Regions from separate parts of the Homo sapiens genome. Here regions 2, 3 and 4 are each linked to region 1. Evidence: promoter capture Hi-C in 16 types of primary human blood cells and fetal thymus (Javierre and others, 2016). All regions are on one chromosome and are shown on one strand. The core of a region is centred on a gene start or on the middle of the fragment in contact, and the rest is flanking DNA. Distances in the headings are between cores, read along the strand shown. Region 1 holds the start of SH2D1B (SH2 domain containing 1B). Region 2 overlaps NOS1AP (nitric oxide synthase 1 adaptor protein). Region 3 overlaps NOS1AP (nitric oxide synthase 1 adaptor protein). Region 4 overlaps NOS1AP (nitric oxide synthase 1 adaptor protein).

Region 1 (6,682 bases), core at 3,767-6,266:
ATTGGGGTCCCACTATAAAGTATGTTCAATGAATGATGGTGATGCAATGAGTTAGCTCTTTAAGGAGATAGACAAAGTGCTATCTCCTACGATAAGACAGTAGGAATGAAGTGGGAGGTCCTACACTGTTGCCCTCCATCAGGCATCTTTTAACAAGCACAACACAAGCATTTGCCATGCTGCTGTGGTCAGTGATGATCTTGTGATCTTGGGCTTTCTGGGGTTGACACCACACTGTCCAGTTTCTACGTGACTTTTCACTCAGAACAACACTGTGATTCACATTTGGCCTCATGCTTCCTTGGTCTTGAGAACAGAATTTTATCTGTAAGGCTGGATTTATTTGACATCTTTAGTAGAAAATAACAAAAACAAATGCCAACTAGCTTATGACAAAAGGGAAATCTATTAAAATGACAAAAAAACTCAAGGGCAAGCATGTAGCCAGACCTCAGAAATCACTGAATCCTGGAATGAAAACCCATGGAAAATCCAAGTGAGACTATCTTTTGACTCTGCTTTTTTTCATGTGTCCACTTCATTCCTCATTTTGCAGACCAGTTCTCTTCTCCTGACAGCTTGCTGGGATATGGCCACCAGTATACAGTGTAAAAATGTACCTGTTACACAGCCATTCCTAGAGAATTAATTTCCATTCCCATTTCCTACCCATCCCAGCCCCCTACCCTCTTTCTTTCTTTCTCTTTCTTTCTTTCTTTCTTTCTTTTTCTTTCTTTCTCTCTCTTTCTTCTTTCTTTCTCTCTTTCTTTCCTTCCCTTTCTCTCTTTCTTTTCTTTTTCTTTCTTTCTCTTTCTCTTCTTTCTTTCTTTCTCTTTCTTCCTTCCTTCCTTCCTTCCTTCCTTCCTTCCTTCCTTCCTTCCTTTCATCTCTCTCTCTTTTTCTCTCTCATTTCCTTCATTTCCCCATTTTCTCTAAACTCCTGGATAAGGGTTTGTGATTAACTTATCTTAGGTCGGAGGCCTATCCTTGATCAAATCACCCATGGCCAGAAGAATAGGGTCATGTTCTACAAACATAGTGCTAGGTTTTTGTTTCTGTGGATGAGAGAAAGGGGACCCACGCAAGAAATTGAAGATATTCCTGTGTACTGTGGAGCTATTCTTAAAGGTGACATGGGATCAGAATAATATGGGAATGGAAAGATATTTTTACTATTAAAACTTTACAACACATGCAAAAAGAGACATTAATATAATGAACCACACACACAATCACCCAGTATCAGACATAACACTTCAATACGTATCTCTAAAAGTTATATTCACAAAAGCATAATGCCATTGCTACACGCACTATCTAATATCAAATCAATACTTAAATTTCCCCCAGCACTAAATTTTTGGTATTTGGTTTTTTCAAGCCAAGATCCAAACAAGATGTCATCTAGCATTGGTTTCATGCTGCATAACCATCTTTTTAACCTAGAGCAGTTCTCACCCAACTATCTGACTCAGTTTTTACAACCTATGAAGACACCACATTATTTGTTCTACTGAATGTCCCATACACTGGATTCCAAGAGCTTAAAGCTTTTCTCCAAGGAGCTAGGACAAAGGGCTACATCTATATTTGGGCAAGGTTGATCTTTTACTGGATAATATAAATTCAACGTATTTTGATCAACCACAATCATTATTCCTTTGATACTTAAATTTTTCCATATTGGGTCTTATGTCCTTTGACATGACTCAGTCTTCACTGACACACTTATATGTCCCTGGCATGAATTCAGCCATTTCTCTAAAAAGTTCTTGCTTCTTTTATAGGAGAAGTGGTATTTAGAGACCATAGCCTTATCCCTAGGTGTGCTCATTGCTACCAAGTTTTCATTGTTTTAGCTAGGGATTGGCAAACTACAGCCCATAGTGCTGCTTTTACACTACAATGGCAGAGATGAATGGTTGCAACAGAGACTATTGCCTGCAATGCCTAAGAAAAAGTTTGCTGGCCCCTGTTTTAGGCCTTTTGTTGAAAAGCAAGTTGTAAATCCATGCTGATATTTCCAATTCAAATTTAGCATCAAAAATTTTATTTAACTTCTTTGCTTTTATATGTGTATCTCTTTTCTTATACTGAAAAAAAATCTTGATTCTAGAATTTTCCCAGGACTCATCTGTCTTTAACACTGAAAGTCGTAGATACTGGGAAACCCCTCAGACATAAGCAAACTGGTACAGTTGTTTACCTTACTTAGTTCTTAAAATGTTAATATCAGTATGATTTTTGTTTATCTTATAATATGAGTTAAATATATTTAAATTACACCAAATTATCACTAAATTTATTTGCTAGTTTATTTAATGTACAAGATATTTAATTAAAACTGTTCACTCAAATTCTACATTCTAAAGTCAGTTGAAATAATTTTCTTTATGATTATATTACCAAAGTAATGTTCAGTTAGATACATTATTTTAGTTTTTATTCCTCCTTTTAGGAATACCCTTTTACTTGTTTATTTTCAATGTGTAAAACAATTATGGCCGGGCGCTGTGGCTCACGCCTGTAATCCCAGCACTTTGGGAGGCCGAGGTGGGTGGATCACGAGGTCAGGAGATTGGGACCATCCTGACTAACATGGTGAAACCCCGTCTCTACTAAAAATACAAAAAATTAGCTGGGCGTGGTGGCAGGGGCCTGTAGTCCCAGCTATTCGGGAGGCTGAGGCAAGAGAATGGCATGAACCCAGGAGGCAGAGCTTGCAGTGAGCCGAGATCGCACCACTGCACTCCAGCCTGAGCGACAGAGTGAGACTCTGTCTCAAAACAAAACAAAACAAAACAAAAAAACAATTACATGATTCTACATTCAAAACTCCACAGCAGGCTGGGCGCAGTGGGTCACATCTGTAATCCCAGCACTTTGGGAGGCCGAGGCAGGCAGATCACTTGAAGTGAGGAGTTTGAGACCAGCCTGGGCCACATGGTGAAACCCTGTCTCTACTAAAAATACAAAAATTAGCTAGTCATGGTGGCACGTGCCTGTAGTCCCAGCTACTTGGGAGGCTGATGTGGGAGAATTGCTTGAACCAGGGAGGCAGAGGTTGCAGTAAGCCGAGATCACACCACTGCACTCCAGACTGGGTAACAGAGTGAGATTCTGTCTCAAAACAAAACAAAACAAAAAACCAACAACTCTACAGCAAGTTTTACTGAGAGAAGTCTCACCTCTATGCATGTTTCCGCTCTCCTCTTAGAGGCAGAAGTTTTTAGTTTTAATTAGTTTTAGTTTTGTTCTTCCAGTGGGTGTTTCGTTTGTTTTTTAAATATGAGCAAATATTATAAATGTATATATTTATTTATATCCCCCATACTCTATATACTATTGTGCATCTTGCTGCTTTCACCTAAAAATACATCCTGAAGATTATTGCATATCAGCATATAGAGATCTTCCTCAATCCCATTTTATTATTCTATAGTAATATTCCATTGTATACATGAATCACAGTTTATTCACCTGTCCCTCTATTCACAAGTCTTTGAGTTGTTTGTAATCTTTTTCTATTAAAAAATACTACCTTATTCACAAGTCATTTTCTAATTCTGCCTGTGTAGTTTTGTGACAGATTTCTAGAACTGAGATTGTTCTATCAGATGGTGAAGGCATACATAAATTTGCAAGATATTGCCAAACCATCTTTTACTATAGTTGTAACTATTTTTTATTCCAACTAATGATATACAAGATATTCTATTTTCTTTCACCATGACCAACCCAATAAGCTTTCAAACTTTTGATTTTCACCCATATGATAGGTGAGAGTTGTTATCTCAGCATGCAGGTAATTTGCATTTCTTTTATTGTGAGGGTTGGATTTTGAAACAGCAAAAAGGGCAAGGAAGCCCCTGTGATGACCAAGAGCCTGAGCATGCTTTCAGTTATTTCCTCTCTTATGTCAAAAAGCATCTTTACACCACGATTGTGAATTTATTCACAAGAAATACCAAATTTCTTCTTTCATTATTAACAACTCTGTCTTCAACTGCCATAGTTTCCAGAGAATTGAATAATGAATTGTCCAAAACCACAGAAGAAAAGTTGCTATTTGAGAGCATATCTGTCTGATAACGAGTTCCCTGATCAGTGAAACTGCACTATGCCAAATGCAGAGTGGGAATTCCAAGGAAGAACAAAGATCTGTTACAAGGAAGTTCCATAGAAGATACACCCAACTGTGAGTAAACAGCTGGTAAGCAAAGTAGCAAGGTGAAATAAACATCTAGGTTAAGAAGAAGTTAAGATCTCCAGGTACTACGGAGATGAAGAAAACAAAAAAAAGAAGAAGTTAAGAGAAGTAAAGATGAATCGTTAGCACATAGTTCTATTTTCATAGATAACATTTTTGAGATATATATAGTGATTTTCTGTAGATATATGAGTATACCCAGATATCCCTCCCACCTACACCAGCCCTTTCTCCAAAAGGAACAATGCTTGAGGGTGTTCAAATGGCCTTTTTTCACCAGTGGCTGGGAGCCTTAGCCATGGAATGGGCTGTCCTCATCCACAGTGTCCCACTGTTTTTTATTGCCATTAATGTCTTCCATTTTTAGTGTCATTTGATCCACGGAAATCCCACCCTTTCAATTTTCCCATTGTATCTGAGCATATCAATTCTCTCAGCATCCAAATGGTTTTTGAGCACCCAGTCTAAGCTAAGCATAGCCCAATCCTAGGCAACTTCAGCAGAAAATGGGTACCATTACAGCAAAAGCAGCGGTGTGCTTCCTGGAAAGGATACCAGTAGCCAAAGAAGTTGATGATAGTCCATGGTAATATACAAGGCTGCAACACAGTTCCAGGAAGCTTGACTTCAGCATTGCCTCCCTAGCCATGAGCATCACTGATTCCATTGTGTGTTTAAATGTGCTTTACCTACTTCTGTGAGTCACATGTGGGCCATTTAGAGGGTGAAAAGTGTTGGTCATTTTATCACCCCGCCCTCCTCATTTCCTGAATCTTGTGAAGCTGGCTGAGTCCCACAGACCGCTAGAGGAAGAGGTAGCTCCACAGGAGGTACAGCTGCTTACACATCTCTCCTCAGAGCTGTCCCTTGACTTGGGGGTGAATTTCAGGCCAACAGGGCTTCCTGGGATACAAGAGCGTTCTCCATGGATCTGCCTTACTACCATGGACGTCTGACCAAGCAAGACTGTGAGACCTTGCTGCTCAAGGAAGGGGTGGATGGCAACTTTCTTTTAAGAGACAGCGAGTCGATACCAGGAGTCCTGTGCCTCTGTGTCTCGTGAGTAGCCTCATCTTGCACACATCTGACATCGTATGTTGAATGTGGCAATGGCTGCCACACAGTACAGGAATTCATATCCCTCAGTATTTCACTCTGACTTTGGAGTCTCAATGAGTAGAATGAGAAGTAATGGACACTGCCAGGAGAGGAATGTATCTGTCCATGCTCCTCCATCTGCCTGCTCTCCCTGGTGTAAAGGCCCTGCAAGCAGACTCTGCAGCAGCAGGAGGGACATGGTGGTGGTGAAGGGAAGGGCTGCAGGAAGTACAGGGGTACAGAGGGATGGAAAGAAGGTACAAATGTCAGAGGTCCTGTCCTCCAGAGATCTGTTTATTTGGTATGGAAAAGGCTAGGGGTTCTTCAAGAAATTTCAATCTGAAACACTTATTCTGCAGCATCTGCTTGCAATACGTAAACTATAAATACAATCATATTTCACATTTTGTTAGATTTGTGAAGGACTTCAATATTCGTCATTTCCTTTCATCCTAGTAGTCTATCAAGGCAAGCATAAGCAGTCACCATTTCATAGGTAAAGAAACAGAGACCTGAATTTCTCAAATAATTTGTTTGTGTTAAAACTCATTTGGAATTTCCAGAGTCTAAGTTAAACATGAAATTCCAGGCTGGGCATGGTGGCTCATGCCTGTAATCCCAACACTTTGGGAGGCTGAGGCAGGTGAATCACTTGAGGTCAGGAGTTTGAGACCAGCCTGGCCAACACGGCAAAACCCCATCTCTACCAAAAATACAAAAATTAACCTGGTGTGGTGGCGTGTGCCTGTAATACTGGCTACTTGAGAGGCTGAGACAGGAGAATCACTTGAACCCAGGAGGCAGAGGCTGCAGTGAGCTGAGATTGCACCACTGCACTCCAGCCTGGGCAATAGAGTGAGACTCTGTCCAAAAAAAAGAAAAAAGAGTGGCTGGGCACAGTGGCTCACTCCTGTAATCCCAGCACTTTGGGAAGCGGAGGCAGGTGAATCACCTGAGGTCGGGAGTTCGAGACCAGCCTGACCAACACGAAGAAACCCCGTCTCTACTAAAAATACAAAATTAGCCAGGTGTGGTGGCGTATGCTTGTAATCCCAGCTATTTGGGAGGCTGAGGCAGGAGAATCACTTGAACCCGGGTGGTGGAGGTTGCAGTGAGCTGAGATTGTGCCATTGCACTCCAGCCTGGGCAACAAGAGCAAAACTCCATCTCAAAAAAAAAAAAAAAAAGAAAAAGAAAAACAAATTCCAGGCCACAGTATCAAAGAGACCTAGCTGAAGGAACTTGTTTATGCCCAGTTTAGAAAGCAATCCTGAACAGAAATCACTAGAAACCTCCTATCTTTATGTATGTTCCTCTTTGTAAAGTAGGGACCACTGAACCTTTTATTATACCTGTAACAGAAATTAAAATCCA
Region 2 (6,658 bases), core at 3,181-5,680, 200 kb after region 1:
TTTTAATGCCCTAGGAGGTGAGTTATTGCTTCTGAAGTTGAAAAAAGAAACATCAATAAATAAGTGCTATAGATTGTATTGTCCCTCCCCCACCAACATTCTGCACTGAAGCCCTAAACCCCAATGTGACTGCATTTGGAGAAGGGGCTTTTAGGAGGTAATTAAAGTTAAATGAGGTTACAAAGGTAGAGTCCTAATCCCATAGGATTGGCATCCTTCCAATAAGAGGAGGGGAGGGAGAGAGAGATGTCCTTCTCATACATGCACTAAGGAATGGCTATGTGAGGACGTAGCAAGAATCATCTGCAACCCAAAGAGACAGCCCTTACCAGACACTGGACCTGCTGGCACCTTGGTCTTGGACTTTCCAGCCTCCAGAACTGTGAAAAATAAATTTCTCTTGTTCAATCCACCTAGCCTGTGATATTTTGTTATGGCAGCTGAGCTAAGACAATAAGAGACCCAAGAAGCCTGCTGGCTCTCTCCAGTCTCAAGTACCATTCACCCTCATTCCCAAGATGAGCCTGTCTCACATTCATTGTCCCCATGTGAAGATCTGCCTGGGTAGAAACAGCAAGAACACAATGGTGGGAAGTGGGGTGAGACCAGAGTAGCAAGAGACCAACTTTCTTCACATGGTAGGACTCCAGAGCCCCCAGGCTTGTGGGCAGCACTGCAGCCCCTCCAGCATCACAGCAGCTGCGGACTCCGTGAGCTCAGGGGCCTGACAGTGACAGCCAGTTCAGTCGCTGGGCCATACTCGTTGTGTGCAATAGCAGAGATGAAGAAATAAAGGCAGTCAGTGGATAGAGGAAGGCCAGTGCCATGGAGCTATTTGAACATGTCACTCATGCCCTGCCAACCAGAGCAAATGGATCTCCCATTCCACAGGCAAAGAAGCCTGGTGATGAAGGCAGCCCAGGAGAAGGAGGAGTCACCACCATGGCCTTGAAGCAGGCGAGTATCTGGAGGTAATTACAAGTGGCACCAATATGCCCAGTCAATTACAGAGTGGAACAGCAACTCCACACGGAGCCTATAAAATGCTGTCATGGAAAGCAAGGACTTCACAGAAAGATGCTGGCCTCAGAGAGCTCGGTGATATGACAGTCATGGGCCTGAGAGAAATAATTTCCAGAGAAAGTGGATTAATTCTGGTTCTCAGTCACAGCCAACTCCCATGACAGCTGATTCAGAGCCATGGGGAGATAGACAGAAGGTGGCAGGGAAAACAGTGTGGCTTTTGCTTGCTGTCGAGTGAGTCAGGGAGGCCCACAGTGAGAGAGGCAAGCAGAGCTGTGGGCTGGGCATGGGAGAAGTCACCGTGCTCTTGAAGGTCGAGCTGGGCCCCACAGCAAGGAGATCCAAGGAACCCACTCAATGCGTCTCTAAGCCCTTGCACCTCAGCCTACTCCACACTGCAAAGTTGTTGCTGAAGAAATGTAGTTAAAGTGATACTCTCTCCCCCTCAGAGCCTTACCACCCATCCCTCCCATATAATCAGTCTTTCAGACAGCAGTATGCCCATCTCTCTTCCTTCTCCTTTCACAAGGATCAAAATAATAAGGAAAAATTAACAAAAATATATACATTTTTAAAACTCCCAGGTTGGAAAGAACTTAGAGACATCTAGTCTGGTCACTCGTCTGATATCTCTATCTCTGCCCACTCTGCATCAGCCTTGGCTAAAATGGCCCCAGTGATGAAGAATTCCTTCCCTCCTAAGCTTTCTTCATCTTCCAACAACACTGATGACCAGAAAATTCTTGTTATACTGAGCCAGAATCCACTTTTCAATTGCCTGGTTCTGCTTTGAGTACAGAAGAGTCCCCCTGCCCTTGCCCCCCGCCCCCAGCTCTCAGCTTCATGAGAGCTTTCCAAAACTTGAAGATGGCTAGCAAGAGAGGGATCTTCCCAAAGTGTTGGGAGGGCTCTGGCCCAACTCTCTAATCAATTTCTCTTCCATGAGTATTTAAAAAGTGTTCTTTAGAATAATGTTTTCAAGTCACAGAATGTTCAGTGGTAGAAGGTATCATAAAGATCATTTATTCTTCTTCCTTCACAGATGAAACCCAGGCACAAAGAGAGGAAACTGACTTGTTCAAGTCCTCATAGACACTTAGCAGAACACCCAAGGTTATATTTGAGCTCTCCTCACATCCAGAGGTTTGTACTGGGTTCTCCTAAAATACCACTTCTCCTAATTTTCCCCAAGCAGAACTGTGCTATCCTATCGCCCTTCTATCTACATGCATTTATACACACACTTCAGTCCAGACTATTTCCAACTTAAAGGCTTGGACGTTTGGCTTTTGGTTGCCTGGTACAACCTTACATGTGAGACAGTCCCTGAGACACTTGGGCCCTACACTGGTGCCCATCCCTGAAGGGGCACCAGAAATATTTCTGGAAGTCATTCCCCAGCAAATTGGGAAACATCTTGTGCAAAAATTGCAAATACAGAGGCCCCATGGGGTTTAAAGGCCATAAATGGGATTCCAGAAGAGGAAAAATCTTACCCATAAGCTTATTCTTTTAATCAATTGTTTGAGAGTAATCTGAAAAAGGGTTGCAGAATTTGCTCATTCCCCTGCAGTGTTGGCATTCTGAAAGTAAGGGACTGCAGGCCTGTGAGTCAGCAAGGAAAGCAAAATGAAAACTAGAAAATTCTAAGCATTTATTTAATACGAGCTAATAGAAGATGATGAATATGGCCTCAAATTTTCTGTTCTCCCCAGCCTCACATGAAGGTGGTGCAACCAGGAAAATGAGCTGAGCAGATGGAGTAAACATTTATTAGACATCTACTTTACGGTCGGTATAAAGGCATTGTTGAGAAAACAAAATTTCCCCTAAAGTATTTATAGCCTAACTCAGAAGGCAGGGTACAGGCAGTGTCTAAAACACAATTAATCAATGGTTCTCAGCCTGGGATGATCTTGCCTTTCAGGGAACATTTGGCAATGTCTGGGGTCATTTCTGAATGTCACAACTGGCATTTCATATATCCATATAATGGATAGAGGCCAGGGACACTGCTAAACATCCCACAGTACACAGGACAGCCCCTTACAACAAACAATTATCTGGTCCAAAATGGTGGTGGTAATAAAGTTAAGAAACCCTAAAGTAGGTGATCCACTAGTAGATACATGGTGGCTAAAATGAACTAGAATTCATCCAATTCAATATTTATTGAGGATATGTATGTGTCAGGAACTTTGTAGGCACTTAAGAATTAAAGATGAATAAGACATGTCTCTTCTCTCAAGGCTACATGAAACAATTATAAAAAGACAAGGTGGGATGTGATCCAGAGTTAAATTGGGTGTGTAAGTGCTTCAAGATTCTGAGAAAAGTGTGGCAACTGTAGGCCAGCATTAATTAGAAAACAGATGGGTCCTGAGCTTGGTCTTGGAGGGCAGGTAAGATTGGAATAGGCAGGCTGGGAGGCCCCTGCCAGGTGAAAGGGCTGAGCTGAGGGGCTCCAATAGCATCCCCAGACTCACCGTGAGAAACCCAAGAAGCATGCTCACTGCTGGTCCTCCCGCATCATAGCCAGCTGGCAGAAGCCAAGCCTGACCACAGTCTACATACCTTCATCTCCCATCTACAGATACTCCCCAGTGCCTAGCGCAGGGTATGTATTTCATGAATATGAAATAATTAGAAAAAGACAATAAAATTAAATCAGGAATTACTATTTTTTTCAGGCTTTTAAAATAAACTTTATTTTTAAAAAAGTTAATATGTGCATTATAAGAAACTGAGAAACACAAGAAGCAAAGAACACAGTCATTCACAATCACAAGCAGTTTATAGTTTGACATGTTCTTCTAGATCCTGTGTGTGTATAGGCACAACATCCAATTTTATGGGACTGAGACCGTACAGTATGTATCATGATTTTTCACACATCATGAATATTTACCAATTCAAAATCCCAAAGCTATATGATAACCAAGAATACACTACACCAACCAGGAACTACTATTTAATGAACATTTGCTCCCTGCCAGATTGTTTGCTTAACAACTTTACTTGCATTATCTCATTCAATCCTTGACCACAACCCTGTAAAGTACCTGGTATTACCACTTCTAAAATGAGGAAACTGACTGGCTGAATGAATAAATAAACCAATAAGTCAGCAAAGAACCAGCTCGAACAGCTCTGCTGTTCCCACACTAACCTGGGCTCTTTCTGATGCCTGCTGTTCCTTGGGTTCCAGCTTGCCCCACCCCTCAGGGCTCTTACACACACAGTGGCTATCAGCACCTAGCTGTCTAAAGCGGAGGTGTCGCGTGGGTAGACGGTGATTTTACAAGGGTTTCTAAGGCCACTGTGCCTCTGGCACTACGTCTAGAACTTCCCAGAATTTCTGCTGGCCAGAAGCCAGCACCACAAAAGAGACTGGAGCAAGGATGCTGGTATAGAATCTCCTCAGGGAGAAGGCTCAGGATCCCTGGTCCATGTTAAAACAAGGCAGCAGCAAACAGCTTCTTTTCACTAGCACATTTAACAAACCCTCTAATTATGTGATAAAAATCCCACTGGCGACTGCTTTTCTCAGAGCAGCACATTACCACTATCCAAATATTTCTCGGTCTCTAAATAATAGGGTAATTTTACAAGGCACGTATCTGCAGCAGCTGCAACAGCACAAATGGGTGCTGGTTAATTCCTTCTATTTATACAGCCCTCTTACCATTTATAGGATGCCCTCGTGGCTTTATTTCATTGGATCCAAGCAACCACGTTTTGAGAAACAAGTCACCTTATCTCCATTTTACACTCAAAGAGATCGAGGCTCAATGAGGTAAAATGAATTGCCCATGGTCACACTACAAGGTCTTCTGGCTTGTCTGGTAACAATATCATGTGCCAGCCACACTGCATGGCCCCTTTGCAATAGGTGATTTTCACTCTCCTTTCCTACTTAATTTGCAAATGATCATCAAGAATGCCTACTTGTATATTAACAAAAAAATTCCTGTGATACAAAAACTCACAATCCCCTTATCTTATGATAACAAGGCTTACCTAACTTCAGAGGTTGACAAACTATTTCAGCACAAGGCTGGATAGCAAATATTTAGGCTTTTCAGGACAGACTGTCTCTATCACAGCTACTCAACTCTGCCAAGGCAGCCAGAGACAAATGTGTGTGGCTGTGTGTCAAATAAAACTTTATTTATAAACACAGGAAGGGAAGACACAGATTTGACTTGCAGATGTAGCTTGCCAACTCCTGAACTAGATTATAGGGTCTTCCCATCCTCTCACAGATCCGACTAACCCATAGAGTCAAATCTACAAACTCAGAAACAAGAGAATAAAAAACTTTGCTACTTTTTTTTTTTTAAGAGAGAAATAGATTTGAAATGCCCCAGTCCATTTTCCTTTCCAGAGCTCCCTGGAGTAAAAATCCCTTTATGCTATTTCAGCCACTTGCTGAACATTACTCCCTGCTCCACACACATTTTCCTCTTTTCCCTGTTCTTTTGAGTTTTCCAGTTACCGGATAACATTCTCTAAAAGGTTTTATGCTACTGTTTTGCCTTTCCAAATGTGAAAAGATGATGCCCAGGTCCCTCACAAAATGGTCTTCATTTGAACAGTATAAATGACTGCTTTGCTGAGAGGTGGGTCAAACAGACATAGACCTCTGTGACTCCTTACACCATCAAAGAGTAGCAGTATAACAAGGCTCAGCCAACTTCAGAGGCTGCCAAACTTTTTCTGTGTAAGGCCAGATAGCAAATGTTTAGGCTATCGAAGAGCCACTAAAAACCCCAAAAGCCCCATCCTACTCATGGAACAAGGTCTACAGGGTTCAGAATTTTGCTTGATGGCTCACACACCAAGCTGGGAATTATAACAGGCCTGATCTACAGCAAGACAGCTACAATTCCCAAACTGAGAATCACCCTTTTAACATACCTCCAAAGACTTCCTTAGTAAAAAGATCCAATAGTGATGACACCGGAATACTCCCCGGAAAAACCATTACATTATTCTGGATGAAAGATGGAAAGGCATGAAGACGAGAATATTAGAGTGGTATTTAGAAAGAAGGAAAACTCTAACTTTGAATCCCATTTTCAAGAAGCATCTTAAGTTGTGCTTTCTTTGATCCCCATTCACTTAATTGTCACCCTCTACCAAGGAAAAAAAGTGGTATGGCAACTGGGGAAAGAGAGCCAAGCTCATGTTTAATGCTTTGTCTTGCAATCAAGAGGCACAGGGGAGCTCCACTCCCCATTAGCTAAACATCCAGACCATCTAAAACAAATGCAAGATTTCATCTTAAACACTTTTAAAGTAAAGCTTAAACTGATCCTGAACCTGAGAGAAGAAAGGAGTGATATGTATTCAGGCTCACACATGCCTGACGCACAGTAATCAATAAATGTTTGCTCAATAAATGTATGAATATCAGGAACCAACTTCCCATCTGGGGTTCACAGGGCTTCTTTTCACATACTCATTTATCAAGAAGCTAGGCATCAGTTTTGCTTTCTCTCCAGGACCAACTGATTAGCAGTGTGATTTCTGGCAATATCTTTGTGCTAAATGAAGTATTACAAAACAGTTCAGATGGCTTGTGTTGCTCAGCCTCATGAATATCTGGTGTGCAGAGAACCTGGATATCTTC
Region 3 (6,523 bases), core at 1,125-3,624, 230 kb after region 1:
ACCCAAACAAAGCAAATTGAAAACCTTCTGGAAAAGATTAATCATTCTGGATGCCATTAGAACATTCATGATTCATGGAAGGAGGTCAAAACATCAACATCAACAGGAGCTTGGAAGAAGTGAATTCCAGTTCTCCAGGATGACTTTGAGGGGTTCAGACTCCAGTGGAGGAAGTAACTGCACATGTAACAGAAATAGCAAGAGAACTACGATGAGAAGTGGAGCCTGAAGATGTGACTGAATGGCTACAATTTCATAATAAAATTTTAATGAATGAGGAGTTGCTTCTTAGGGATGAGCAAATAAATTGGTTTCTTGAGATGGAATATACTCCCTGTAGACCCGCTATGAACATTGTTGAAATGGCAACAAAGATTTAGATAAACTTAGTTGATAAAGCAGTGCAGCAGAGTTTGAGAGGACTGACCCTAATTTTGAAAGAAGTTCTACTGTAATGCTATCAAATAGTGTCACACGCTACAGAGAAATATTTGGTAAAAGGAAGACTCAATCCTTGCAGCAAATTTCATTGTTGCTTTATTTTAAGAAATTGACACAGCCACCTCTACCTTCAGCATCCAGCACCCTGGTCAGTCAGTAGCCATCAACATCAAGTGTACCTTGTTTTTATATGCACTTGGAACCAAAATATTTGTGTGACTCACTTTATTGAGATACTCGTTTTATTGCAGTGGCCTGGAACCAAACCCGCAGTATCTCCAAGGTATGCCTGTACCAACTTGACAGTATTGTGACCGATTATAAGGTTCAATGACATTATGTATGAAAGTACCCTGCACAGTGACTGTCAGGAAGCAGACACTGTAAATGATGACTGTCGTAACAATTATTGTAATAATCTACCTCTTTCTGGGCCTCTGAGTAAAAAGCCATGTGACTTTGTGTTCAAATCTCTCCAGACCCTGGCTTCCTCCTCTAGTACATGAAGAAGGAAGATGGCTCTCTGACCATCTCACTGTACAGCTCTGAGGATTAAAATAACAATGTAAATAGAAGCACTGTGAAAAATACAAGCCCAATGCAAATGTCAAGTGGGACTTTTTTCAACTCTATCCAGGAATTCTCCAGAGTCCTTCATAAAGCTGGCCTTCTTAGGTCATCCCCAGAAAAGATGTTGCATACACTTGAAATCAACTCAGACCATACTCAGTGGTCTACCATGTTTCCTGTCTGATACAAGGAGAGTACTGAACAAAAATCTTTGAGCATCTGAGATACTGATGGCTTGTGAAGCCATGAATGAAATAAATTGGGCATTTTGGGCTCCATCCTACAAAGGAAGTGCCCAAATCAATCCCCTCATTCCTGGCCATCAGGAAGCATCCACTCCAGTGAGCAGTTCATGTCAACATCACCCCCTAATTCAAAAGGCCCTTGATAACTGTTATCCAGGGGGCAGCTGGTACTAGAAAAGCCCTTAAAAATAAGAACCAGAACTTCACAATAGTGAAAAAATAAGAGCTGACAGAATTAATCTTTCAAAATGAAGTAAAAATTATGCAAATAAGCTTATCTAAAATGTAAAACCTTATTTAAAATGTGAAATATTTAGATCATATTGAATTTTGCATTAATTCTTAGGCTAGACTGAGTTATTGATTTATTGTTGTAATTTTTTTCCAACATCACTACATAATAACATGACATCCTTTACTACATCTCTGACTTTCATGACATTACTATACAGAGCATAATTTTTGCAGAAATTATTTAAGAGCTTTCATTTTCTCAAAGGTGTGTCTTAATATTCAAAGATATTCAAATCCTTCTCCTTTGAAGTCAGTTTCTTGTCAGCATACTGATTGTTTTTCTCACCAATTATGAGTGGGTCTAACCCTGCCCAGTCCTCTTTTGTCTGTTAAGTTGTTTGAGCAGTTCTCCAGCAATCCTTTTATTGACTACCTATAATCCTACATCTTTTGCAAGACTTGCAATTTCACTTTGAAATACATTTGCATGGAAATTGCACTGTACTGCCAGATCTGAAAGCAGAATGCTGGCTGATAGACCTTGAGGATAGCTGAGAATAGATGCTGCTGTTAAGGGGAGGATGACTGAACAGGGAATGTTTTAGTTTTCTACTTGCTGCATAATAATGGCCACAAACTTCAAGGCTTAAAGCAACACACATTTAGTATCTCCCAGTTTCCCTGGGTCAGGAGTCTGAATACAGCTTACATGGGTCCTCTGCTGAGAGTCTTGCAAAGCTGCAACCATGGTGTCAACCAGGCTGTGTTCCTTTCTGAAGCTCATGGGTCATCTCCCAAGCTCACGTTGTCGTTGGCAGAACTGAGTTCCCGGCAGCTACAGGACTGAGGCTCCACTTTCTTGCTGGCTGTCAGCTGAGGGCCATGCTCCGCTCCAAGAGGCTCCTGTAGTCCCTTTCCACATGTGCCTCTCACATGCAGAAGGTCCCGCTCCAGGCTGCTAAAATGGGGTCTTAAATAACGTAACACATTGGCCGGGCGCGGTGGCTCATGCCTATAATCCCAGCACTTTGGGAGGCTGAGGCAGGCGGATCACAAGGTCAGGAGATCGAGACCATCCTGGCTAACACGGTGAAAGCGCGCCTCTACTAAAAATACAAAAAATTAGCTGGCCGTGGTGGCGGGCGCCTGTGGTCCCAGCTACTCAGAAGGCTGAGGCAGAAGAACGGCGTGAACCCGGGAGGCGGAGCTTGCAGTCAGCAGAGATAGCGCCACTGCACTCCAGCCTGGGCGACAGAGCGACACTCTGTCTCAAAAAATAAATAAATAAAATAAATAAATAAAAATAAAATAACACATCATGGAGGAGGCTACACAAGGGCCTGGCACATTGGAGGTCACCGGGTGCATTTGCCACAGGGATTGTTTCTGTAAGTGATGGCTTCATTGGTGAATATTTGGATGTTATGATCACTGTTGCTTTCCTAGGTAACATATCATTCAGAAATCCAGATAATGAACACCTGCATAATGCTGGTCCTCACCTCTCAGATCCAGGCTCTCCATTCCCACTGTCATGGCTCCAGTTTAGGCCCCTACATTCTTGCCAGCAGCCAGCACTAATAAATGGTGTCCGGCCTTTTCTCCTCCCAATCCATCCTCTGCATCACCTCTAGAGAGAGCTTAGTAATCTGCAAACCTCACCATATTTATTCTCTGCTAAAAATCTACCAATAGGTCACTACTACCAGCAGGATGAGGTCAAAGCTTTTTAGCAGGCAAGTCAGCGCCTTCATGATCTTATTGCCTGAGAAATCCACTGTCAAGTCCATCTCTCTCCAGCCCTCCCTGTGCTCTCTCACCTCTAGGTCCAGGATTTCCCTCCCCACTCATCCACCCTTCTGGATCTGAGTTCAAGGATCACAGCCTCTGTGAAGCCTGCTTGGACTTTCTCAAGAAGCTTCACATAATGTTTCTTTACATTCTCACTGAATTGTTTTTGCATAATCGCTGCAGCATTTACCCCAAATGCTGGTTTCCAGGTCCGTCTTCCCAACAGACTGGATGCATCTGCAGGCAAGAACTAGCTTTTTCCTTCCTCTGTCTTTAGCAGTACCAGAGAACAGACTGGCAATGGCTGTAGAATTGTTGTTTATCTAGCACAGCATGACAAATAAGAACACAGATTATAAAACCCCACAGCCTGCATTTGAAAGCCAGCTAGCCGGCTTCCTAGCTGTGTAACTCAGGGCAGGTTACTCAACTTCCCTGTGCCTTGGTTTTACCACCTCTAAAAGAAGAATCGTTTTCATATCTATTTCGTAAGATTTTTATGAGGTGTAAACAAGCTAATATTTGTTAAGGAACTAAAAAAGGGTGTAACATATGATTAAGACTATATAAACATTTGTTACATAAAATAAATACCCAGTAACTACGAGATACACAATGGTAGGAAATTCATGCAAAGAAAGGAGAGATGCCACACAGGTCCAGGAGATGAGCTAATGACAAAACTGTTATCAAAATTTTTCAGCCAAAAAAGAAACAGTATACATAACCACCAGCACCACCCCCCTCAACCCCCACCAAAAAACCCCACAAACAAATAAAGCAAGAATGATAAAATCCTGGTAATTCCAGGACCTGAGTGATAGGTATAAGACGGACTAAACTAGTCTTTTTACTTTGGTGTATGTTTGACAATGCTCGGAATGAAAACAGTTTAAATCTAAATAGGCCAGCATAGGCTGAGCATCCAGGAAGTATAAGAGCACCTAGGCAAGGCTACAACTTTCACACAGAGAAAGAAACCTTTTTCTTCCACTGTTCATAAACTGACGGGCAACCCTGGTGAGCTGAACGAGGTGCTTCTGGATGAGCCCTTTCTAGCTGGGTGGATGCCACCTTCTGTTATATGCTGGTCTCCAGAGACGGCATGACGCAGTGGGAAAAGCTCTGGCATCAGGAGGGATGAGTGTAAGTGCCAGCTGTCACTTACTAGCTACCTAGCCCTCCTGTGCCTGAGTCTCCTCACCTATAAAGTGGAAGGCCCTACTTCATAGGGTTGCTAAAAGGATTATTAAATAATATATTAGCAACTAGCACCATGTTTGGTGTATGGCACATACTCAGTAAACATATTTTTAAATAAAATAATACAAAACTAATCATACTCTTAGCAAGCACATCATTCAGCAGTCACAGTCTTTCACCTTTATTCAAATGGAATGAAAACTTATGTCCACACAAAAAGCTGCTCACAGATGTTCTTGGCAGCTTTATTCATAATTCCAAACCTTGGAAGCAGCCAAAATGTCCTTCAGTAGGTGAATGAATAAATCAACTGTGGTGTATCCAGACAATGGCATATTAATCAGCACTAAAAAAAATGAGCTATCGAGCCATAATAAGACCTAGAGGAATCTTAAATGCATACTACTAAGTGAAAGAAACCAATCTAAAAAGCCATTCATACCTACTGTATGATTCCAACTATATGACATTCTGGAAAAGGCAAAATTATAGACAGTAAAAAGATCAGTGTTTGCTAGAGGTTAGGAGGAGGAAGGCATGAATAAGCAGGGGACAGAGGATTTTTATGGCAGTGAAACTATTCTGTATGAAACTATAATGGTAGATACATGTCATTAAACACTCGTCCAAACCCACAGAATGCACAACACCAAGAATGAACCCTCATGTCAATTATGAACTCTGAGTGATAATGATGTGTCAATGTAGGTTCATCAGTTGTAACCAATGTGCCATTCTGGTGTGGAATGTTTAAAGTGGGGGACATTGTGCATGTGCAGGGGCAGGAATATATGGGATCCCCAAACTTTCCATTCAATTTTGCTAAAATTACTCTAAAAATAATGTTTACTACTTTTTTAAAAAATAGAAAAATCACATCATTTAGTTAAAAATGTTTAAATAAATTAATATAAACTTCAAAATAAATAAGTAAATAAAAAGAGTAGGCAAACTCAGTATATAACTACAGGTCAGAGAGCTGCCCCGCAAACTGAAGTGTGGGAAAACCAGGAGACTGAGCTACACTGACCCCAGACCCATGGCTGGTTCCCTTCATGCCAGTGGCTGAAAGACTCCGCAGCTGACCTACCTGGCAAAACAGACACCACCACAACTCACCCCAAAGATCTGAAAGGGCCATGCGTGGGCCGGCCTCTCTCCTGAGTCACACAGGACGAATCACTCTGTGTAACAAACACTCTGGTTTACTGGCCTTTACTGCCACACCAAAGTCACGTGAAAACTGCTTTCAGGAATCAGGGTTAAGTTCCTAATTAACACAATGGCGTAATCCTTGGGGCTCAGCTAAGCCCTGACTCCAGGGCTATTCCAAATCACATAATCCACCCTCCTCCCCCATATCACCTCCTGGATTAAAATTTTTAAAGTTCTCAGCAAGAAGGGTGGTCAATGCTTACCACTTACAGGCAGAGAAGAAAACAGGTCAGTATATGGGCAGCTCAGCAGCAGAACTACCAATTTTTAGAGTGTGCTGACATTGTCCAGGTAGAATTGAGGAGGTAGATGCTGAAAGGCAGATACTCAAATGAGGCAGATTCTCCTAGGCATTTATCCAATTAATTTGAAAGCTTATGTGCACATAAAAGACTGCATATGAATCGCTATAGCAGCTTTATTCGTAATCATCAAAATCTGGAAATAAGATGTCCTTGAATAGGTAAGTGAAAAAACTGTGGTACATTCATATTATGGAATACTGTTCAGCAATAAAAAATGAGCTATTGGCTGGGCGCAGTGGATCACACCTGTAATCCCAGGCCAAGGTGGGTGGATCACCAGGTCAAGAGATCAAGACCATCTTGGCCAATGTGGTGAAACCCTGTCTCTACAAAAAATACAAAAAGTAGCTGGGCGTGGTAGCACACGCCTGTAGTCCCAGCTACTTGGGAGGCTGAGGCAGGAGAATTGCTTGAACCCAGGAGGCAGAGGTTGCAGTGAGCCAAGATCACACCACTGCACTCCAGCCTGGCAACAGAGCAACACTCCATCTCAAAAAAAAAAAAAAAAAAAAAAGAGCT
Region 4 (6,564 bases), core at 1,654-4,153, 170 kb after region 1:
AATTATCTCTAAGTTCTCCTCTAGTAGCAAATAAATATAGCTATTTATTCAAAACCACATAGAACTTGGAGCAGTCCTGAAAATGTCCTTAGGTTCCATACTTAAATTCAACAAGATGGTAACAAAGGTTGGTTTAAGAGAACAGTCCTTGAGAATGTGTCTCAAAGAGAATGAAAATCAACTGCTGACCCCAGCAGGAACCTTGCCTCAACTGAGAGGGGAGACAGGTTCCCAGCACCTGTCAAGCAGAATCTTGGGATCTAGTTACTCCCTAAATAGACCCTGCCCCACCAGTCTGGATCCTTCTCTCCTCCATCCCATGCCTACTCACTCAACTTCAGGGATATAAACATGTAAAATTTGAGTTTCACAGCAGAGCAGGTAAAAATACTTTAAGGCCCGATACACCTCATTGAGCCAGTCTCCAACTTATAAATGAGTCTGTGCCAATGATATGGTGTCTTTGAAAATCCAGACGGAGCTCTGATAGGAGGTAAGTCACCTTGTAGTGGGAACCTGGGACTCACTCCCTCAAATGACAGGCCACAGGCAATACCAACGCTGAATCCTAATCAGTTCCTGCCACTCACACCCCCTTTGAGGGGAAGACGGTCCTCCAACAATTCTTACAACAGCTGTTTTGCAGGTTAAATGAGGTTGAAAAATGGTCCTGTGGGTCCCTGCAAGAATGAACAGACAGCCAACATCTCAGATGGCCCATGGGTAAAGTTCTTTAATTTCAAACTGACTAAAAATTAGAAACATTAATTAAGGAAGAATATTTACCTGGAACCTCTCAGAATTAACCCCAAGAGCTGCCTGTAGATATTTCTGGTGAAATCATATGACTTCCACCATAATTGATGGGTTAAGAAGAGAGCAAGGCCAGCCCTTGGAGATGGGGAAGAGATTTGCTCTTCAAAGAGGCAGACCGATTTGAAAGGAGACCTTACACTCTTCTCTGTCTCTTTTCCGATAAGGTCAGGGCCATAGTTGAAACACATTACTAATCACCATCATCTCTCTTCCTTGTTTTTTTTCTTCCATGCATATTCACAGCAAAGAGGGAAAGCGAGGACACAGAATGTAGGAAGTGAATACCCTGGTCTCTGAGAGGTACTGCTCTTTATGCAGGAGCCCATGCCCATTGCCCCTCATCATTGCCTTCCTCACCTGCTTCTCTCTCATCTAGCCAGTGCTTGATGGGACCTTGAGAAGCATGCTTTCCTCTTCCAGCTGCCGCCATTACACATCTAACACCCCCTTGTCCCCTCTCGGCTACAATAACCTTTCAACAGACACACCTGAATTAAAGTCAATGCAGACTTCAATCAGGATATCACTCCTAAAGCAGAAGCAGATAGCACTACTCATTACCAGCTTGAAGACTGAGAACAGTAGGCTCCCTTAGGGACAATCATAACTCCTTGTTTAATCAGGCTCCTGCACTGCCTGCTGTCTGTGGGTGTATGTATACATGGGTATGCGTATATAGGGGAGGAGCTCAAACCGAAAGCAACATGCAAAATAAACTCCTCTATTAAATAATGCTCATTTTCACTTTTTCTCCTCTACTTTTGCCCGCGCCCCTCCTTCCCGAAGACCAATTTGCAATAAAATCTAGGAGATAGCTGAAGGTTTTATGCTCACTGCTGAAGACTAGCAATTTCTTCTCTAGTGATTTGAGCCCTATCTCTAGTGGATCCCCTGAGTTGCTGCTTTCTTCAATTCTTGGAGGCTGATGATTAGAGCTATCATTTCTATATAACAAATTACATCTGTAATACAACCACCATTGTTTTTTACTCAGACTCTTGTGGGTCAGGAATGTGGAAGAGACTTGGCTGGGCAGTTCTTGCTTGGGGTTTTGCGTGCAGTTACAGTAAGATGTTGGCTAGGGCTGCATCTGAAATTTTGATGGGTCTGGACGTCCAAGATGGCTCAATCCACAGCTGACAGATGATGCTGGCCATCAACTGGGAGCTCAGCTGGAGCTGTCACCAGAGTGCCTACACGTGGCCTCTCCAGCATGGCTATGTCAGGCTAGTTGGACTTCTTTCTTGGCAGCTAGTGTTCCTCATAGTGAGGAATAGTTGACTGGCCATTTTTTTGGACCTAGCCTCAGAAGCTGCATACTTCCACTGCATTCTGTTGGCTGCATGCAAATCATGAAGGTAAACCAAGATTCAAGAGTAGTCACAAACTCCATCTTTCAATGAGATGAGTCTCAAAGAATTTGCAGACATGTTTTAAAAACCCACACTGACCTGTCATCACTTAAAACCCTATTCACTTGAGGTCAGGGAATATACTCTGTTCCTTACTCTCTCAAGCCTAGTTGAGTGTCTGACACATTGTAGATGTTCAATAAATAGATGATGAATGAAGGAAGGAAGGTAAAAAGAACAAATGAACTTCCTGAATAAGGAAACTTCTAGATCTATTTTTTGAGAGAAAAGTCATTTACTGTCCCCAAGCTTTGTTTTCTTTCATTGTTACAGTGGAGATATGACATTCAACTTTCATGGGATTGTGGTTAGAGATGAATGAGATGATTTAGGAGGAAGGATTTTCATTTTCCCAGGGTTGCTGAAAAAGTAAGACTAGAGATGGCACCATGCAGCCAGCCTCTCCTTGTTCACAGAGTTTCAGTGTGAATCTGCTTTGTTGATGTTGACATCTGTCACCTCATCTGGAATGCCTTCCCTTTTCTCCTCTGCTGAGTCAATCCTTGGAGACCTATTTTCATCTTGAGTTCTTCCCGTAGAGGCAGTGTGGGAATTAAGAGCCTGGACTCTGCAGTCAGGGGGAGTGCAGATTCTCTCTCCCACATTGTGCAGTGTAGCCCAGGTCAAGTTACTTAATCCTTCCCAGCCTCATTTTCATCTGTAAAATGAGGATAATAATAGTATCTACCTCATACAGTCATGGGGATTAAATGGGTCAATATGTACTGAGCACTCAGAAGGTTGCCCAGCATAGAGCAAGTGTGAAGTAATTTTAACTAGCTATTATCATCACTCCAGTCTTCACGATCTCTCTCTCCTCTGAACTCCATGCTCTTCCCAAAATGAACTCACTTCAGTTTCCCAAAAGTGCCAGGTTTTCTTGCCCTTCCATGCTGTTCCGTATGCAACTTCCTCTTAAAAGTATTAATCTTTTAAAGCACTCAGCTCTGCGCCTGGCACATGCTAAGCATTATCTTCAGTGTTGGTGATTATGGTTCTACCTAGAATGCTCTTTCCCACCTCTCCTCTGCTTCCCTTGTCTGGCTAATTCTTGGTCATCTTTCAAGTCTCAATTGAAATGTTTCCTTCCAAGAAGCTTTCCCTTCCATGCTAAATCCAGAGTAGGTGCCTTTCCAATCAGGGTCACTGCTGGTCCCTGTGAGCCTTTCTGTGAGTTACAAAAAGGCTCCCCTGCCTCTAGCCAGTACATGTCTTGAGAAGTAGAGGATAGGCTGGATTTCAGCCTCTACTCATCCTTTCAGCCAACAGCCCTTGAACAGCCACACCCCACATAACTGCACACTGCCCTGCTTCCAGTGTGCACTCATGGCATTTATCCTACTCCACTGTGACCATCCCTTGACACGTCTGTATCCCGCCATCAGACTGTGAACTCTGCAAGGGCAGGGCCATAATTGCTCCAGGTGAAATCCCCAATACTTAGTATATCACCCAGCACCAAATAGGTGCTCAGTAAATATTTGTTGAATACATGAATGGACCATGAAGAAATGACCATGTGCCTTGTATCTTTCCCTTGGGGTTGTTTATACATTCCACAGTGTACCTGTGCAAACAAAAAGCTGCCAAATAACACGCTGATGTTTTATCTTTACTCCACGTTTGTAGTTTTTGTTTTGAGTTGGGAGAACAGTGAGTGAGACTTCAATTCATATAGACAGTGTGATTCAGGCTCCCGCTAGAAAGCATGCTGTGCTGTAAGAGCCCTTATCCAGGTGGTTAATGGTACCTCTGCAAATGCAACCTTCTCTAGTAAAAGGCAAAGTGCTATTCTGGGGCCCTGCTGAGCTTGCCTGGGCTTGGGCAGAATGTATAAGCCAAAAATATTTCCCTGAACCGTTCAGAAGGCACTGAATGAAGAGGCTGTTCTGAGGTACTGCCCATAGGGCCAGAAGGCAGGAATCCCAATCCACGTGCCAGGTGAGCAGGCATGCCTCAACACACACACACACACACACACACACACACACACACACACTGGCCACACAGTGCAGCAGGAATGGGACTTGAGCCAATCATGGAAGTCAGTGAGGCCCCTCTGTTCAGTCAGCTGGCAGTTGTTGTGGCTTATTGAGAAGGACAGACCATAAGGCAATAAGGTAATCTCATCTGAGCAGTTAAGGAATGGGTTTCAATGAGTGTCTCTAGCGTGGCAGGTGGGTAAATGTGCCAGGAAGCTGCCATCTGGTGGCAGGAGCACCAATCCAGGCACTGGGAAGCCTGGAGGGAGCTCTGATGCCACATTACTGAAGCAAGTCACCTTCCCTCTACATCTGTGTCCCCAAGTATTAGTTGGCAATATACAGGCCTTTTTACTTCCTGGAATTATTTTGAGCATAAAATCAGACAAACCTAAGTAAAAGTAATCTGAAAGTAAATTATTCTCGAAGTCATTATACTCATTGAGTTGTACAATCCCTTTGCAACATCACCCTACTTGTTTATGCTGCTTTTCCTACTGGGGTTCTCTCCCACTCCTCTTGTCCTTCACAGTGGCCTCTGTTAGCCCATCTGTCTTAGCTGGTGATATGTGACTCCTCCAGGTACATCCCCAGGTTACTTAGGGGCAATAATCATATCAGGCAATCTCTTGGGGGCTTATGACTCACAGCCCAGCACTTGGCATACAGCAGGCTTGCTGAATATTTGCTTAACTGAATATAAGCACGTGTGTTGATCTGTGTGAGTATGTGTGCAAATACATATTCACTCTCAGTCTTCACAGGATCTGACCATTGGAACAACAAAGGAATCCTTTTGGTGACAGGCACCAAAGGGCAGTGTCATTATAATATGTCAAATTGCATTATACTCAAAATAGGGCTCCAAAACCTTGGTTGATGCAGTCCACTGAATTTTAGGAATTCACCCAATAACTGGTAAAATAGGAACTTGCAATAAGAGAATATGATCTGTAGATCACAATGGCTACTTCCTAGACACGTTCCTTAGATGAGCTTCCTCGGCTCTCCTAGAGGCACCTGCCCACATCAGCTGGGGCCATGTGGAGCCCATATCTGATTTGTCTTCACTAATCTTCTTACAGTAAAAGACTTCTTATAAACACAATCATAACCAGTAAAAGTTGGTCTATTACTCAAAACAGATGTTAAGGCAAAGAACCATAGAAAACAGTATGTGCATACCTTAAACATTTTATTTTAATATAAGATATATAAATGTATGTTTATTCACTAATATTGTAATGTAGATTGGAGGTCTTTCCTCTAGGAATAGGTCTACAGATTAACTTACCAAACTCTTCCTTACATAAATAACACAATATATTGACTCTGATTTCTAATTTTGCTTTCTTCCAAGTGGATTAAGAACTTAGAGACATTTGCTGAGTAACATGGGTGCAGGATCCTTCTAAGATTTTTACTTTCCCTCCAACTTTTTTATGCTGTCTTCTTCATAACTAATCCATTGGTGACTTCTGTAACAATTCACTGTTATCATTTTTTTCAAAACATTCTACTTTTATATACGCAGCAACTATAAGAGATGAGATGTCAGATACTTAGAAGAGTACCTAACACACAGTAAGTACTCAGTGAATGTTAGCCATCTATTTTTTCTCACTCATATTTCATTTATGTAATAATTAAATTATTCAATTACAACAACAAATATAACTGGTGCAAACAAGTTTAGGAATTCACACAATTGGCTCTTGGTATGCATTCAGCCCTAATGGAGGGAAAAAAATTATGGTGGCACATAAGACAACAATAACAAAAACACGTAGCAGCAGTTGCCGGTAGTATGTTTTACAGAAGGAATGGAGACTAGCAGGTAAGTTAAGTGGAGGTCACTTAAGAGAGCTGCTTCTTTGATGAAGCCCTAACCCTTCCCCTGTAGACTCTATCCCCAACCAGGGCTGATGCTTAATGTAGCACAGGCTGTGACCCGCACAAAAATACCCAGCTGAGGGGGTTAGTGGGGACTGGAACCCATCCATGCTCCAAAGGAAGAGACACCTTTCTCTTATTCATACGTCCATTCTCCCTCCTTCTCCCCCAACCCTGCCTCCTATTCAAGTCCACACATTGTTACACAGAACAAAATTAGGCAGGGCTATCAGGTTAAAGCACTGCACCATACTGTAAATGATGCTCTCATTAAAAACAACAGCACGGTCAAGCAGAGAGCATGCTTGCATATGAAATGTGATTAATCCTGTCAGATGTGGCTCATGATGACTGGGGCCACACCACCACGACAGCAGCTCTGCATCGAGCCTAGCTGTGTGCCTGGCCACACCCCAAAGTGCTTCACACTCCTCTCATTTCACCCTCAGAGGCAGACAAGA

The links. The method cuts DNA at HindIII sites, captures the fragments that hold promoters and counts their contacts. A CHiCAGO score of 5 or more calls a contact.
Region 2: a contact is called between a fragment that was not itself captured here and the fragment with the promoter of SH2D1B in region 1, in 1 of 17 cell types (M1 macrophages). The highest score is 5.7, in M1 macrophages.
Region 3: a contact is called between a fragment that was not itself captured here and the fragment with the promoter of SH2D1B in region 1, in 1 of 17 cell types (M1 macrophages). The highest score is 6.0, in M1 macrophages.
Region 4: a contact is called between a fragment that was not itself captured here and the fragment with the promoter of SH2D1B in region 1, in 1 of 17 cell types (M1 macrophages). The highest score is 5.7, in M1 macrophages.

What each region holds. Positions count from the first base shown.
Region 1 is chr1:162,410,470-162,417,151 of GRCh38, reverse strand. SH2D1B (SH2 domain containing 1B) reads left to right here and starts at 5,016. Exons shown (of 4, transcript NM_053282.5): 1 at 5,016-5,269. The coding sequence starts at 5,136. The HindIII fragment of the contact is 13,514 bases long and covers 4,833-6,682 here.
Region 2 is chr1:162,204,963-162,211,620 of GRCh38, reverse strand. All of the region lies in intron 2 of NOS1AP (nitric oxide synthase 1 adaptor protein), which reads right to left. Among named protein-coding and RNA genes, the nearest start is that of MIR4654, 51 kb to the right of the region's middle. The HindIII fragment of the contact is 3,804 bases long and covers 2,529-6,332 here.
Region 3 is chr1:162,176,501-162,183,023 of GRCh38, reverse strand. The region is part of intron 2 of NOS1AP (nitric oxide synthase 1 adaptor protein); the gene reads right to left. Among named protein-coding and RNA genes, the nearest start is that of MIR4654, 23 kb to the right of the region's middle. RefSeq lists an enhancer at 2,050-2,580. The HindIII fragment of the contact is 1,686 bases long and covers 1,532-3,217 here.
Region 4 is chr1:162,237,908-162,244,471 of GRCh38, reverse strand. All of the region lies in intron 2 of NOS1AP (nitric oxide synthase 1 adaptor protein), which reads right to left. Among named protein-coding and RNA genes, the nearest start is that of MIR4654, 84 kb to the right of the region's middle. The HindIII fragment of the contact is 847 bases long and covers 2,480-3,326 here.